Linked DNA regions of Homo sapiens: region 2 is linked to region 1. The links are contacts of gene promoters, found by promoter capture Hi-C in blood cells and fetal thymus (Javierre and others, 2016). All regions are on one chromosome and are shown on one strand. Each heading gives the region's core, a stretch centred on a gene start or on the middle of the fragment in contact. The rest is flanking DNA. Distances are from core to core; before and after follow the strand shown.

Region 1 (7,069 bases), core at 1,629-4,128:
ATGATCTTAACTTACATCCTTCAACTCTTAAACGCATATTCTAAATCTCACCTACAAACAACTAAATCAACAATCTTAAATAAATACCCCCATCATTATGGAAAGGGAAGGGGAAAGGGGTGATTGGAACCAGTCTGGACTTGCCCCTTCAATAAGGATCATATATGTGGTTTTTTGTTTTTAGGATTTTTTTTTTAATTAAGTTTTAAGGAAACAAATCCTCTAATCAGTTTAATTCAGGAACTTCCTCCAGAATTGAATATTCACTTAATAAAACAAACACGAAAATAAACTTCAATAATGACTGCACATACAAGCACAAATAAGTCCTCCAAAACGTCACAAGGGAATTTCTTTAATGTTCTACAAAGAGATTAATGAAAATATGAATCAAGCATGTCTTATGAATGATATCTTGTTTTTTTCCCTCCAAAACACACAGACAAGTTGAATACCACCACCCAGGGGCAAAGTGTCAATCGGGTTCAGTGGTTTGTTTTGGTTCTTGCATTTATGAAATAAGAATTAGGCATCATTAAAAAGCCAGCTAAAGAAAAATGTCTCAAAGGCACCCTAAGTCTAAAAATCGTCTATAAGATGAAAACATTTTTTTTTTTTTTAGCATAAAAGTAATGAAATCGCTCACTCCGACTTCCCTGGGCTCTCAGCTCTTCAGTGGAATGGCAGAAAAAAGTGAGAAGGAATCAAGTCCGGAGTAATAAAGAACCAAGGATGTCAAAAGGCCCCAGAATCTTCCCAACCTTTCATTCTCCCGGCCCCAATAAATCAATATCGAAAGTTTGGCCTCAGCGTTTTCCAAGTCTCCCCAGTTTCGATTGTTCTGCCTTCTTTTTATTTACGGTAGAAGAAATGTTTAATTTATTTACACCTGCCTAAGGAAGGAGGCCTTGATTTGCCCTTTCTGCCCACCGAGAAAAAAAAATAATACCTTTGTGACGCCCCCACAAAAAAGGAGGAGGGTAAGTGTTTGTGTGTATTTGTCGGGGAGACAAGAGCTAAGCAAACAGAAGGATCAGCTAAAGTCAATATCGTTACCTGTGGTATTGAGCCTGTAAAAACTGAAACTCTTCCTTAATCCGATCACAGGATTCGGAAATTGTAAATTTAAAGGGTTGAGCAGGCTGATGCGGTGCCTGAAGAACAACAATAAAATATTTAATTAGCCCACATCACAGGCGAAGCAGGGAGACGGAGAAAACCTACTATGCGGCGTTAGCGGGGGGTGAGGGTCATCGCGCACGCAAGCAAAGAGAGATTAAAACTCTCCTCCCGCAACCCTCCTCGCGCCCAACAGCCCAGGCAGAGGCTGGTTTCGAGGTGGTCCTGGGGCCCCGCATACTCCCGCCCGCAGGCCCCCGCGCCCCGGACCCCGAGGGTTCGAGTCCCGTCTCCCCTCCCCGGCCAAAGACAGGCACCCAGGGACCCGCGCGCCGCGCCCACTCCCTCCTCACCCGGAATCGAAACTGGCCCGTCGGGGGGACCCGCGCCATGGCGTCGGGCTGCGGTCAGGCCGGGGGAGGAGGGAGGCGGCCGCCACCCTCTCGGCTCGTTCGTTCGCCCGCTCGCCCCGGCGGCCCGCGGCGCGAGGGGCCGGCGCCCCGCACTTCCAAACCGCAGCCAGCCCAGCAGCGCCGCTGCCGAGGGCGCCCTCCCCGCCCGGGCGCGGAGTCGCGCCTCCTTCATCGCTCGCCACCCCCCCTCGAGGAGTCGCGGCGCGGGGACCGCAAACGGCTCGGCGCGGCTTCCAGGGGCTTCAAAGACAACAATAAGAAAATGGCTACAACTCAATTGCCTCTCCGCACCCCCTCCGAGGGCCACCGCGCCGGGGGGTGGGGGTGATGGCGGGCGGGCTGCTCCCGGCGCGGGGCGCCGATTTCGGGCGGCTCTCCACGCCCCTCCGGCCAAAAGACACAACTCGGTGCGCAGGGGGCGACGCGGGGAATCCCCCAGCACCCGGCGAGCCCGCGCCCCGCCGCCCGCACTCACTGGGTGTCTGGTCTGCGGGTACATCTTGCTCAGGTCGCGAATCATCCAAGCCGATTTAGTTGGCTGCGCTCGGCAGAGGCGCGCGGCTCATTGGCTTTAATGACCCCGAAGAGGAGGCGGCCGCGGCAGCGGAGGCGGCCGGCTCGGTCTGAGGGGCGGCTCGGGCGGTCCCGGCCCCCGCCGGGTCTCGCGTGACACGGGCGGCAGGAACGCGCGGCGGCGGCTGGGTGCCGGCTGCCGGGCCGCTCCGCATTCCCCGCGGGCGTCACTGGCCCGCCGCGGGCATTGTCCGGCGCGCGTCTCCCAAGGCAACGCTCCGACGTTCGCTCCGCCGAGGCGCACCCGCCGAGCCCGGCGCCGCGGCCGCCGCTCACCCGGCCGGGAAAGTGCGGGCTCCGCGCCCCACCGCCCGCCGGCAGCTCCTCTCGCTCGCTCTGCGTCCCACTCCAAACTTTTTTTATTTGTCTTTTAATTGGTTGTTATTCCTCCGAATGAATGATCTTTCTTCTTCCCTAAAAGCAAACACAAACTCCTTTGGTTCGGAAGAGGTCTCGGCGGTGCTTTTTGGTTTCTCTGGAGATTTTTTTCACTTCACAGCAACGATCTTTTAAAAGGCACCTTTTAGCTTCTTTTACCACATCTCATTTCCTTATTTCTCTTCCTTCCTGTTTTCTTGTCTTTTTTTTAACCCCAAATTGAAGGGGATTATAAAAATAAAAGAGTGAAACGCTTGCGGCTTTTTTTTTTAATTCTCTCTCCTTTCAAACTCTGCGAACACCACCTCAAAATAATATACAAGTGTGTGAGAAAGGGGGAAGAAAGCAGCCAACAACCCAAACACCCGCTCAGCACAGCTCTAACAACACGCTCTGTGTAGGTGACTTCTTTGACCAAATTTAGCAGCAGCTAATCATTAACATTCTGATACATATTCACAATCTTCCGCGGGGCGGCCGCGCAGCATCCCGGGAGATGTAGTCCGCCCCGGGCGACCCTGCCTGAGAATACGGCCAGATTGACTACAATCACCGGCCCGCCATGCGAGCGCTCTGGCGAGCTCTCCAAGCGCCCCGCCCACCCCCGTTGCGGTAGGCGTCTCCACCAACCAATCAGAGGTGGCTGAACATTAATCGCCGTTCTGTGTTAGTGCCCATCATTTCACTGCTGACAAATGGCAAGCCAGCGGGGAGGAGCCAACCCAGCTGAAACCCACGTGGGGGCCGGGCGTCGCCTGTAGCTCCGACCAATTAACGAAGAGGAATGAGGTTGGCGGAGGCGGGGCGGAGATGGCCCGCCCAAGGCGGAGCTTCGCCTTGGCTGACGTTCCTTAGCGCGAGCGTTCGAACCGGGAAAACATTTGTTCAGCTGTCAATCAAAGTAACGTGGGGCTGGGAGAATCGGCGGCTGCTGCTGTTGCTGCTGCCCTGGCTGCATCTTCAGAATTAGGTGTTGGTGGTGGTGGTGGTGGTGGCGGCAAAATAAAGAGGGTGGAGGGAGCGGTGAGCCTGGGGGCTGGTCAAAAGATCTTCTTCCGAGTCTCGTCCTCCCGCCCACCCGTCTCCCAACCCAGACACCTTCGGCCCCTCGCTCCGCAGCCGCGCCAGGAATGCGGACTAATTAGGGTCCAATGTCTCCTTAAAGAGACAAGCTCGGCCTTGTGTAACGCGCCGAAACCCCTGTTGAGACAAGAGGGGGAGGATCACGCTGATCTTACTTCGTTCGGTTCACATCAATTTTACGCGCCGCTGGAGCCGGCATAATTTTCCGTGTGAACGCGACTCGGTCCCCGTTCTTGTTTAGAGCCAGAAATGGAGTCGCGAGATGCTGGCTGGGGCCGGGGCCGCGGGGTGGGCGGGGAGCTCGTCCCTCCAAGCCCCGCGGGGGCTGTGATTGCCATTTAGTTCCGAAACAGGCCTCCCTCCCTCCACCCCCGGAGGCACTCGGAGAGAAAGCGCATCCCGACGCTCCATCGGGGGTCGCGGGGGGCAGTAACCGTGGGGGCTCCGGGTGGGGCTGAAGATCCGGGAATCAGAGACGCTGGACCTCCAAAGAAACTTTGCCGACTGGGCCACGTGAACCCCGAACACGGTCGGTACTGAACAGAGCAGGCCGACGGGGCACGGGTAGAAAACGCCCCTGCGCGCCCTGGGACGTTCCCTCCCCCAGATCAGTACCAAGACTGCGCCTCTTTTTCCCGCTCTTTGGAGAAGCAAGTCAAGTTTATCCCCGTTAAAAACAGAGCAGGGTGCCACGCGGGCCCGAGAGATGGCGGAAAGGTGGGGGTGGCCCCAGGGGCAGATGCTGGAGGAGGAGAGAAAGGGGCAGCCATGGCTGAGGAGGGGCACCCCTAGGGAGGGGCCTGGGAAATGGGGGCGGCCTCCGTCAGTGCGCCTTTCCATCCTTAGTCCGTGTCCAGCTGGAGGCAGCGCCCCAGTTCAAGGGGAGGCTGCTGAGGCTCGCAGTCTTTTCTAGCGAGCGGCTAATCTTGGGGACAGGGAAAAAATTCGGAAAAAGTCAAGAAGAGTGTTGGCTAATGTAACAGGCTGGGTTTTAGACGTTTATTTCTATGCGTGCTTGCCTACTGTAACTTGACCTGTTGGTTGAGATGGTGCCGCCGGTTCGGCGTTAGTGGAAAACTATTCTTCTTAATGATATCCCTTTCCTCAGTGGATGACTCGGTGACTTAATGTCCAACCTAGCACGTTCTGTGAACCTCCTTCCGTTCTGGCCACTGTAGTGAGCTGGTGCAAAGGAAGGCTATGGTGGTCTTCACCTGCCTCTAATTTCATACTAAAAACCCAGAGCCAAAGTTCACAGAATGTTTCAATTCGGCAAATATTTTCGCCTCCATCCCCAAAATAAGAGGACAGAGAAGTCCTTTTGACAGTTTTCTGAACCTCTGCTGTTCCATACCTAGCCACATGTGACTGTTAAGCACTTGAAATGTGTCCAATTCAAAATGAGATGTGCTGTAAGTACACATATATGTGGCATTTTGAAAAAATTAATGTGAAAAAACTGCAGCTCAATAATTTATAATTATGTCAAAATTGTGATATTTTGAATAACTCAATTAAAAATATTAGTAAAATTAATTTTGTCTGTTTCTATTTATTTATTGTATTGATGGGGGTCTTCCTGTGTTGCCTAGGCTGGCCTCAAACTCTGAAGCTCAAGCTATCCTCCTGCCTGAGCCTCCAGTGTTGTTGGGACTGCAGGCACACACTTTTTTTTTTTTTTTTTTTTTTTTTTGAGACAGAGTTTCGCTCTTGTTGCCCAGGCTGGAGTGCAATGGCACGATCTCGGCTCACCGCAACCTCCGCCTCCTGGGTTCAAGCGATTCTCCTTCCTCAGCCTCCCGAGTAGCTAGGATTACAGGCATGCGCCACCACACCCAGCTAATTTTTTGTATTTTTAGTAGAGACGGGGTTTCTCCATGTTGGTCAGGCTGGTCTTGAACTCCTGACCTCAGGTGATCCGTCCGCCTCGGCCTCCCAAAGTGCTTGGATTACAGGCGTGAGCCACCGTGCCCAGCCTCTTTTTACTTTTTTAACTTTGTTCCTAGAAGATTTTAAATTATGAGGCTTACATATTTCCATTAGACAGCCCTGCCCTGAAACCTTCCCAAGAATCAAAAGTGAGAAGACTTTAGTGATACAATTTGCACACGAGGACAGCGAAGTTTCTAAGAACACCAGCAACAACCATGTTTTATTCTAAGGTTGGTTAGTTGCTTGCTCCCACTAGAGCTTTTCAATGGTTTGTGAAATCACCCACAGTGCCTCTGTAGGAAGTTCCATGTTCTCTATTTTAGCCAGAATGTTAGCAAGTTCCATGAGAACAGGGACCTGGTTGTGTTCACAGTTGCACTCCAAACTCCCCAAATTATGTCTGCCATCACTGTCTGGTAGTTGGTGCTCAGTAAATATTTGTTGATGGCATTAATGAATGAATACCTCATTGCATCCTTATAGGAAGTTTCCACATCATTTGGGTCATATTTATTGAAATTCTGTGCAGTTTTCTCTCAGGACAGGAAACGAGAATTCTAAGAATAGAACCCGAAGAACTATTGAAAGGGTCAGTGGACAAAGAGGAAACTTTGCTCTGTTAGGAAATATCAGATCACTTATAGCAAGGATCTTTCCCCTAATCTCTCTCGATGGTTTGTGTCAACAGGAAAGTGGCTAGAGAAGTCAAGATGTTTCTTTATTTTTTAAGTTCTGTATTAAAATATAGCCCTTGGATGTGTTTCACATTTTGGCCACGTGGCAGAGCTATGTAACTCACCTCAATGTCTCAGAAAGATGCAAATGCAGCAACTGGCGGCCCAGCCCTAGCCGTAACACAGACTGTAAGTGGGGCTCATGGCCACTTTTTCTCCTTTTCTCTGCTGTGCTTCTCTCATTGCACTTCTCGCTAACTGTTGAGCCAAGCTATGATGTTATCTGGAGGCCTGTCTTATCCCTACCACAGAGTGGGGGGTAGGTGGGGTGTTCCAGAGTTTTCATGTGGGAGGCACTTGGCAGCAACTTTCATGTTAAAAGCTAGGCCTGAAAGCTCCAATCTTGAAGTGACATATGCCAAGCATGCTTTTCACTTTGGTTAGATGTAAATCATTTATTTATTACTTCACCAAATATTTATTAAACCTACTATGTGCCAGAATATGGGGATTTCACAATAAAAGTGGCTATTATTAATATGTTGCCTCTTAGCTCCAAATTCATCCTCATTGCCTGCCTAGTGAAACTGAATCTGAGCCCTTTAAATATTTTCCAGCTGTTAAAAAAGCTAGGTCAATAGAAGGCGCTGGAGAGACATTGCAGGAGGAAAGGGTTTGGTTTCCTGGTTCCTGGCTCTGGTTGCATACTGGGCAGGTTCCTACAGCACAGGTAGCAAGCAGCAGCACCCAGCAGCCAGCAGCTTCCTCCAGAAGCCCCTTAGGTGGCTTTGGAGCAAGTGCCTCTAATGAGTCACCTCCCTCAGCAGCTTTCCTTGGAACCCCAGAGAATGGATTTCCAACGAGTTCTGGAATGTGGATTTCTAGCAAGTTCCAGAA
Region 2 (7,069 bases), core at 1-2,500, about 22 Mb before region 1:
AGGCCCGTGGATCTCATCGAAGATGGCGGCGCGATCTGTGTCGGGCATTACCAGAAGAGTCTTCATGTGGACAGTCTCAGGGACACCATGTAGAGAATTTTGGTCTCGATTCAGGTAAAGCTTTATGGTGGACGGTGGGTCATGTTCAAGGAAAGTTAAGGAGGATTAGGGACGAATTCAAAATAGAGTGTTACGCCATCGTGGTCCCGCGCCTGATCAGAGCAAGGACAAGGAGGTCCGGTTAGGGTCCCGAGTTGAGAAGCACTCATTGAGTGGTGGGACCCAGTCTCTTCCACTCTCGGCCTTAGTTTTCTCATTTTATAACGGAAATACCACCCCCTTTCCTTTTCACTTCACTCATTCATTTATTTATTAAGCAAGCAGGATTAACCTCGTGTGCGAGACACCGAGTGTGTTGTCTGCAAACACATGAAAGCGCTTGGTAAACTAAACTCATTTGCCGGCTGTGTTTCTTCACAAGCAAGGTTCAGTAATGAAGTACTGCCTCCTCCTTTTGTTTGTTCATTCATTCAGTCATTCAACAGATTTCTTAGGGCCAGCATTACTCTAAGCGCCTAGGATACAGCAGGAAAAACAAAATCCATTCTCATCCTCGAGGTACTCCAACATATGAGGAAACAGGCCCACAGGAGGGAAGTGATTTTCCCAAAGTCACAAAGCAAGTTAATTGCAAAGCTGGATCTAGAACATATGTCTCCTAACTCCCCATCTACTGCTTTTTCTGCTGCACGGCTGCACCATGTGTAATTGTTTGAAGGTAAATCTAATTTGACTTAGATAGTGTTTAGGAAATCAAAACGTATGGTAGGAACCCTAGGGAGCAATGTATGCTCTCTTAGGTTTAAAACAAAAACCACTACAATTAGGAAAGATCTTTTTCATCAGTTCAGATATTAGCTTTCCCTCTTCTTTGGTCAATATTTGTTATTATCTCTCAAATCTCTTCCAAGTTTGTTTTATTCATTCACTCAACAAATATTTTTTAGGCTGTTTACTATATGCCAGGCTATATCTTAGGTGTTGTAAGAATACAGTGGTTACTAAAACAGACCAAATTTTTGTTCTCGTAGGGCATATGTTCTAATGGAGGAAGAAATGAACAAATGTGTAATGTAATTTCAGAAAGTGGTAAATTATGAAGAAAACTAGAGGAAATAGATTACTGAGAATGATGATTATATTTTCTTTACTATTTTAAAAATTTTATATATTTAAGATATACAACTTGATGTTGATTATTAGTCAAGATAATTATCATATTCATCTCTTCACATACTTTCTGTTTTGTTTTGTTTTAGAGAAAGGAGTTCTCACTATGTTGCACAGGCTGGTCTTGAACTCCTGGACTCAAGTAATTTTCCCACCTTGGCCTCCCAAATTGCTGGGATTCCAGGGGTGAGCCACCACACCTGGCCAGTTAGAATTTTTGTGTGTGTGGTGAAAACACTTAAGATTTACTCTCAGAAGATTTCAAGTATACAGTACAGTATTATTAATGATCGTCACCATGGTGTACATTAGATCTCTGGAACTTATTCATTCTACATAATTTAAATTTTACCTTTGTCCAACGTCTCTTCATTTCCGCCACCCCTGGTAGCCACCATCCTACTCTCTGTTTCTATGAATTTGACTTTTTTTTTGTTTGTGTTGGAGATGGAGTCTCACTCTGTCTCCAGGCTGGAGTGCAGTGGCGCTATCTTGGCTCACTGCAACCTCCGCCTCCCAGGTTCAAGCGATTCTCCTGCCTCAGCCTCCCGAGTAGCTGGGACTACAGGTGCCCGCCACCACGCCCGGCTAATTTTTTTATTTTTAGTAGAGACAGGGTTTCTCCATGTTGGCCAGAATGGTCTCGATCTCTTGACCTCATGATCCACCTACCTCAGCCTCCCAAAGTGCTGGGATTACAGGCGTGAGCCACTAAACCCGGCCTAATTTGACTTTTTAGATACTACATATAAGTGAGATCATGTGGTATTACTCTGTCTGGCTTATTTCTCTTAGCATAATATTTTCCAGGTTCATCCATGTGTTACAAATATCCTTTTTTAAGGCTGAATAAAATGCCATTTTTTGTGTGTGTATATATGCAAGCACATAATATATACATATATTCATACATAGGTACACATATACATATAGACACACTTATGGCATTTTATTCAGCCTTAAATATTGTGTATGTGTGTGTATACATGTATACATTTACATGTATACACACATGCTGCAATGAAGATGAGAGTGCAGATGTCTCTTTGAGATACTGCTTTCATTTCCTTTGGATATATACCGAGTAGTAAGATTGCTAGATCTTAGGATAGTTAGGATAGTTCTGTTTATAACTTTTGAGGAAGCTTAATACTGTTTTTTATAATGGCTATGCCAATATTCATTCCCACCAGCAGCATATAAGGGTGCCGTTTTTTCCATGTCCTCACCACACTTGTCTTTTTGGTAATGACCATCCTAATGGGTATGAGGTGATGTTTATTTGTAATTTTTTTTTAATGTTTATGGATGCATAATAGTTGTAGATATTTATGGGGTACATGTGATATTTTGATGCAAGCATACAATGTGTAATAGCCAAATCTGAATAGTTGACGTATCCATCACGTTATTTATCTCTTTGTTTTGGGAACATTCTAAATCTTCACTTCTAGCTATTTTGAAATACAAATAAATTACTACTAACTATAGTCACCCAATTGTGAAATCAAACACTAGAACTTACTCTTTTTAGCTGTAGTCCTCTTCTCTAACTGTATTACTCCTTTTAACTGTATTTCTAACCAATCTGTCTTCATACCTTACCTCCTCACTACCCTTCCCAGCCTCTGGTAACCATCAATTTATTACTACCTCCATGAGGTCTTTTTTTTTTTTTTGGTTCACACATAGGAGCGAGAACATGCGATATCTGTCTTTCTGCACCTGGCTTATTTCACTAAAGAGTGTCCTCCAGTTTCATCCATGTTACTGCAAATGACAGGATTTCATCCTTTTTTAATGGCTGAATAATATTCCATTGAGTATATGTACGGTTTTTTTAATATCCATTCATCCATTGGTAGAAACTTAGTTTGATTCCATATCTTGGCTATTGTGAATAGTGCTGTAATAAACATGGAGTACAGATATCTCTGTTAGACTGATTAACTTTCTTTTGGATGTATACCCAGCAGTGGGATTGCCAGATCATATGGTAATTTTATTTTTAATTTCTTTGGGAAATTTCCATGCTTTTCTCCATAGCAGTTGTACTAATTTACATTCCCACCAACAGTGTACTGGTATTCCCCTTTACATCCTTGCCAGCATTTGTTATTTTTTGTCTTTTAAATAATAGTCATTTTAACTCAGGTGAGATAATACCTCATTGTGTTATTGAGTTGCATTTCCCTGATGATTAGAGATCATTTTTTTTATATACCTGTTGGTCATTGTATATCTTCTTTGAGAAATATGTATTCAGATCTTTTGCTATTTTTAAATCAGGTTTTTTTTGTTGTTGTTACTGAGTTGTTTGGGTTCCTTGTATATTCTGGTTATTAATCCCTTGTTGGATAGTTTGCCAATTTTTCTCCTATTCTCTAGGTTGCCTGTTCACTTTGTTTATTGTTGCCTTTGCTATGCAGAAGCTTTTTAGTTTGATATAATCCCATTTGTTGATTTTTGTTCTTGTTGCCTGTGCTTTTGAGGTCTTAACTCAAAAGGTCATTGCCCAGACCAAAGTCCTGAAGCATCTCCCCAATGTTTTCTTCTACACAGAAGCTTTTTAGTTTAGTATAATCCCATTTGTCTATTTTTGTTCTTATTGCCTGTGCTTTTGAGGTCTTACTCAAGAAGTCGTTGCCCAGACCAATGTCCTGAAGCATCTCCCCAATGTTTTCTTCTAGTAGGGTTATAATTTTGTAACTGCCCAACGGGTTCACTTTGCCTAGACAGAGCTGATGTATCAAGGCAGAGGAATTGCAATGGAGAAAGAGTAATTCACGCAGAGTCAGCTGTGAGGATACTGGAGTTTTATTATTAGTCAAATCTGTCTCCCCGAAAACTTGGGAATCGGAGGTTTTAAAGATAATTTGGCAGGTAGGGGCCTAGGAAATGGGGAGTGTTGATTGGTTGGGTTAGAAATGAAATCATAGGGGGTCTAAGTGAGTTCTTGCCAACTTATGATCCTGGGTGGGATCACAGAACTGATTGAGCCAGATTACCGGCTTTGGTGGTGTAAGCTAATCCATTGAGTGCAGGGTCTGCAAAATATCTCAAGCACTGACCTTGAATTTTACAATAGCAGTGTTATCCCAGGAGCAATTTGGGGAGGATCAGACTCTTGCAGCCGGAGTCTGAATGACCCCTAACCATAATTTCTAATCTTGTAGCTAATTTGTTAGTCCTACAAAAGCAAACTGGTTCCCAGGCAAGAGGGAGGTCTTTTCAGAAAAAGGCTATTACCAATTTTGTTTCAGAGTCAAACTGTAAACTCATTTCCTTCCCAAGGTTAGTTTGGCCTATGCCCAGGAATGAACAAGGACAGCTTAAAGGTTAGAAGCAAGGTGGGGTCAGTTAGGTGTGGTCTTTTTTTTTTTTTTTTTTTTTTGCTTAGCATTACTTTGGCTATTCAAGGCATTTTGTGGTTTCATACGAATTTTAGGATTTTTTTTTCTATTTCTGTGAAGAACGTCATTGGTATTTTGATAAAGATTACATTGACAGTATATCGCTTTGGGTAGCATAAGCATTTCAACAACATCAATTCTCCCAATCCATGAACGTGGGATATCTCCATTTTTTGTGTGTCCCCTTCAATTTTTTTCATCAGTGTTTTATAGTTTTTATTGTAGAGACCTTTTACTTCTTTGTTGAAGTTTATTCCTAGATTTTTTGTGTGTGTGGCTATTGTTAATGGAATTGATTTCTTGATTTCTTTTTCAGATTGTTTACTATTGGCATATGGAAATGCTACTGATTTTGTATGTTGATTTTTGTATTCTGAAACTTTACTGAATTTATAATTTCTAAGAGTTTTTTTGGTGGATATTTAGGTTTTTCTAAATACAAGATCATATATCAACAAGATATATAAGATCATATATCTTACGTATGATACATAAGATCATATATCTTACGTATGATACGTAAGATCATATATCAAATAAGAACAATTTGACTTCTTTTCAATTTTGATGTACTTTATTTCTTTCTCTTGTCTAATTGCTGTGGCTAGGACTTCAAGTTCTGTGTTGAATACAAGTGATGAAAGTGAGCATCCTTGTCTTGTTCAAGATCTTAGAGGAAAGGCTTTGAGTTTTTTCCCATTCAATGATGCTAGCTTGTTTTGTGTCCTTGTTTGGTGGGTTTGTCATGCATGACCTTTATTATGTTGAGGTATGTTCCTTCAGTATCCAGTTTATTGAGAGTTTTTATCATGAAAGGATGTTGAAATGTATGAAATGCTTTTTCAGCATCTATTGAAATGATCACATGATTCTTGTTCTTGATTCTATCAATGTGATGTATCGAATTTGTTGATTTGCATATGTTGAACCATTCTTGCATTCTGGGATGAATCCCACTTGATCATGGTGAATGATCATTTTAATGTGTGGTTTAATTCTGCTTGCTAATGTTTTGTTGAGGGTTTTTGCATCTGTGCTCATCAGGAATATTGAACTGTAGTTTTCCTTTTTTATTTTGTCTTTGTCTGATTTTGGTATCGGGGTAATGCTGGTCTTGTAGAATGTGTTTTCCTTTTTTATTTTGTCTTTGTCTGGTTTTGGCCTCAGGGTAATGCTGGCCTTGTAGAGTGTGTTTGGAAGTATTCTCTCCTCTTCAGTGTTTTGGAATAGCTGTGGTAGAATTCGTATTGATTGGCATTAGTTCTTCTTTAAATGCTTGCTAGAGTTCAGTAGTGAAGCCATCAGGTCTTAAGCTTTTCTTTGATGGGAGACTTTTATTACAGCCTCTTTCTCATTATTTCTGTTTGGGTTTTCTTTTTCTTCGTGATTCAATCCTGGTAAGTTGTCCGTGTCTAGGAATTAATCCATCTCTTCTAGGTTTTCCAATCTATTGACTTATAGTTGCTTGTAACAATCTCTAATTAGCCTTTAAATTTTTGTGATATCAGTGTAATATCTCCTTTTTTGCCTCTGATTTTATGTATTTGTGTCTTCTCTGTTTTTTTTAGTCTAGCTAAAGGTTTGTTGATTTTAACTTTTCAATAAACCAACTTTTTAATTCATTGATCTTTTTATTGCTTTTTTAGTCTATTTTATTTATTTCTACACTGATCTTATTTCTTTCCTTCTACTAATTTTGGATTTGGTTTGTCTTTTTCTAATTTAAGGTACATCTTTAGATTGTTTATGTGAAGTTTTTCTTTTTTCATGTAGATGTTTATTACTATAAGCTTCCCTCTTACTACTGCTTCTGCTGTATCGCATAGGTTTTGATGTGTTGTGTTTTCATTTTTATTGCTTCAAGACGTTTTAAAATTTCCTTCCTAATTTCATCATTGACTCATTGGTCATTTGGGAGCATGTTATTTTTTATGTAGTTGTATAGTTTCTAGAGTTCTTGTTATTGATTTCTAGTTATATTTCATTGTCGTTAGAAAAGTCCTTGATATGATTTTGAGTTTTATGAATTTGTTAAAACTTGTTTTGTGTTCTATGATACAGTCTACCCTGGAGAATGTACCATGTACTCATGAGAAGAATATGTATTCTGCAGCAGTTGGGTGAAATGTTCTCTAAGTGTCAAGTCCATTTGGTGTAGAATGTAATTCCAGTCTTTCTTTGTTGATTTTGTCTGGATGATCTGTCTGTTATTGAGAGTGGGTGTTGAAATCCACAACCATTAATGTATTGTAGTCTATCTCTTCCTTTAGATCTATTAATATTTGTGTTATGTGTTTAGGTTCTCCAATATTGGTTGCATATATATTTATAATTGTTATATGCTTTTGCTGAATTGACCTCATTATGATTATGTAATGACCTTCTTTATCTCTTATAGTTTTTGACTTGAAATTTATTTTATCTGA

The links. The method cuts DNA at HindIII sites, captures the fragments that hold promoters and counts their contacts. A CHiCAGO score of 5 or more calls a contact.
Region 2: a fragment that was not itself captured here is called in contact with the fragment with the promoter of TLE4 in region 1 in 1 of 17 cell types (naive CD4 T cells); the score reaches 5.4 in naive CD4 T cells.

The regions. Positions count from the first base shown.
Region 1 is chr9:79,567,774-79,574,842 of GRCh38, reverse strand. It overlaps TLE4 (TLE family member 4, transcriptional corepressor), which reads right to left and starts at 2,878. Exons shown (of 20, transcript NM_007005.6): 1 at 2,008-2,878; 2 at 1,057-1,154. The coding sequence starts at 2,052. LNCARSR (lncRNA regulator of Akt signaling associated with HCC and RCC) reads left to right here and starts at 6,891. Exons shown (of 3, transcript NR_184113.1): 1 at 6,891-7,069. RefSeq lists silencers at 1,267-1,506, 1,527-1,996, 2,107-2,266, 2,327-2,446, 4,357-4,406 and enhancers at 1,337-1,949, 2,677-2,766, 2,807-2,856, 2,867-2,996. The HindIII fragment of the contact is 12,449 bases long and covers 1-7,069 here.
Region 2 is chr9:101,391,546-101,398,614 of GRCh38, reverse strand. It overlaps MRPL50 (mitochondrial ribosomal protein L50), which reads left to right. Exons shown (of 2, transcript NM_019051.3): 1 at 1-114. The coding sequence starts at 23. Among named protein-coding and RNA genes, the nearest start is that of MRPL50, 3.5 kb to the left of the region's middle. RefSeq lists enhancers at 1-293, 1-354, 355-884. The HindIII fragment of the contact is 2,255 bases long and covers 123-2,377 here.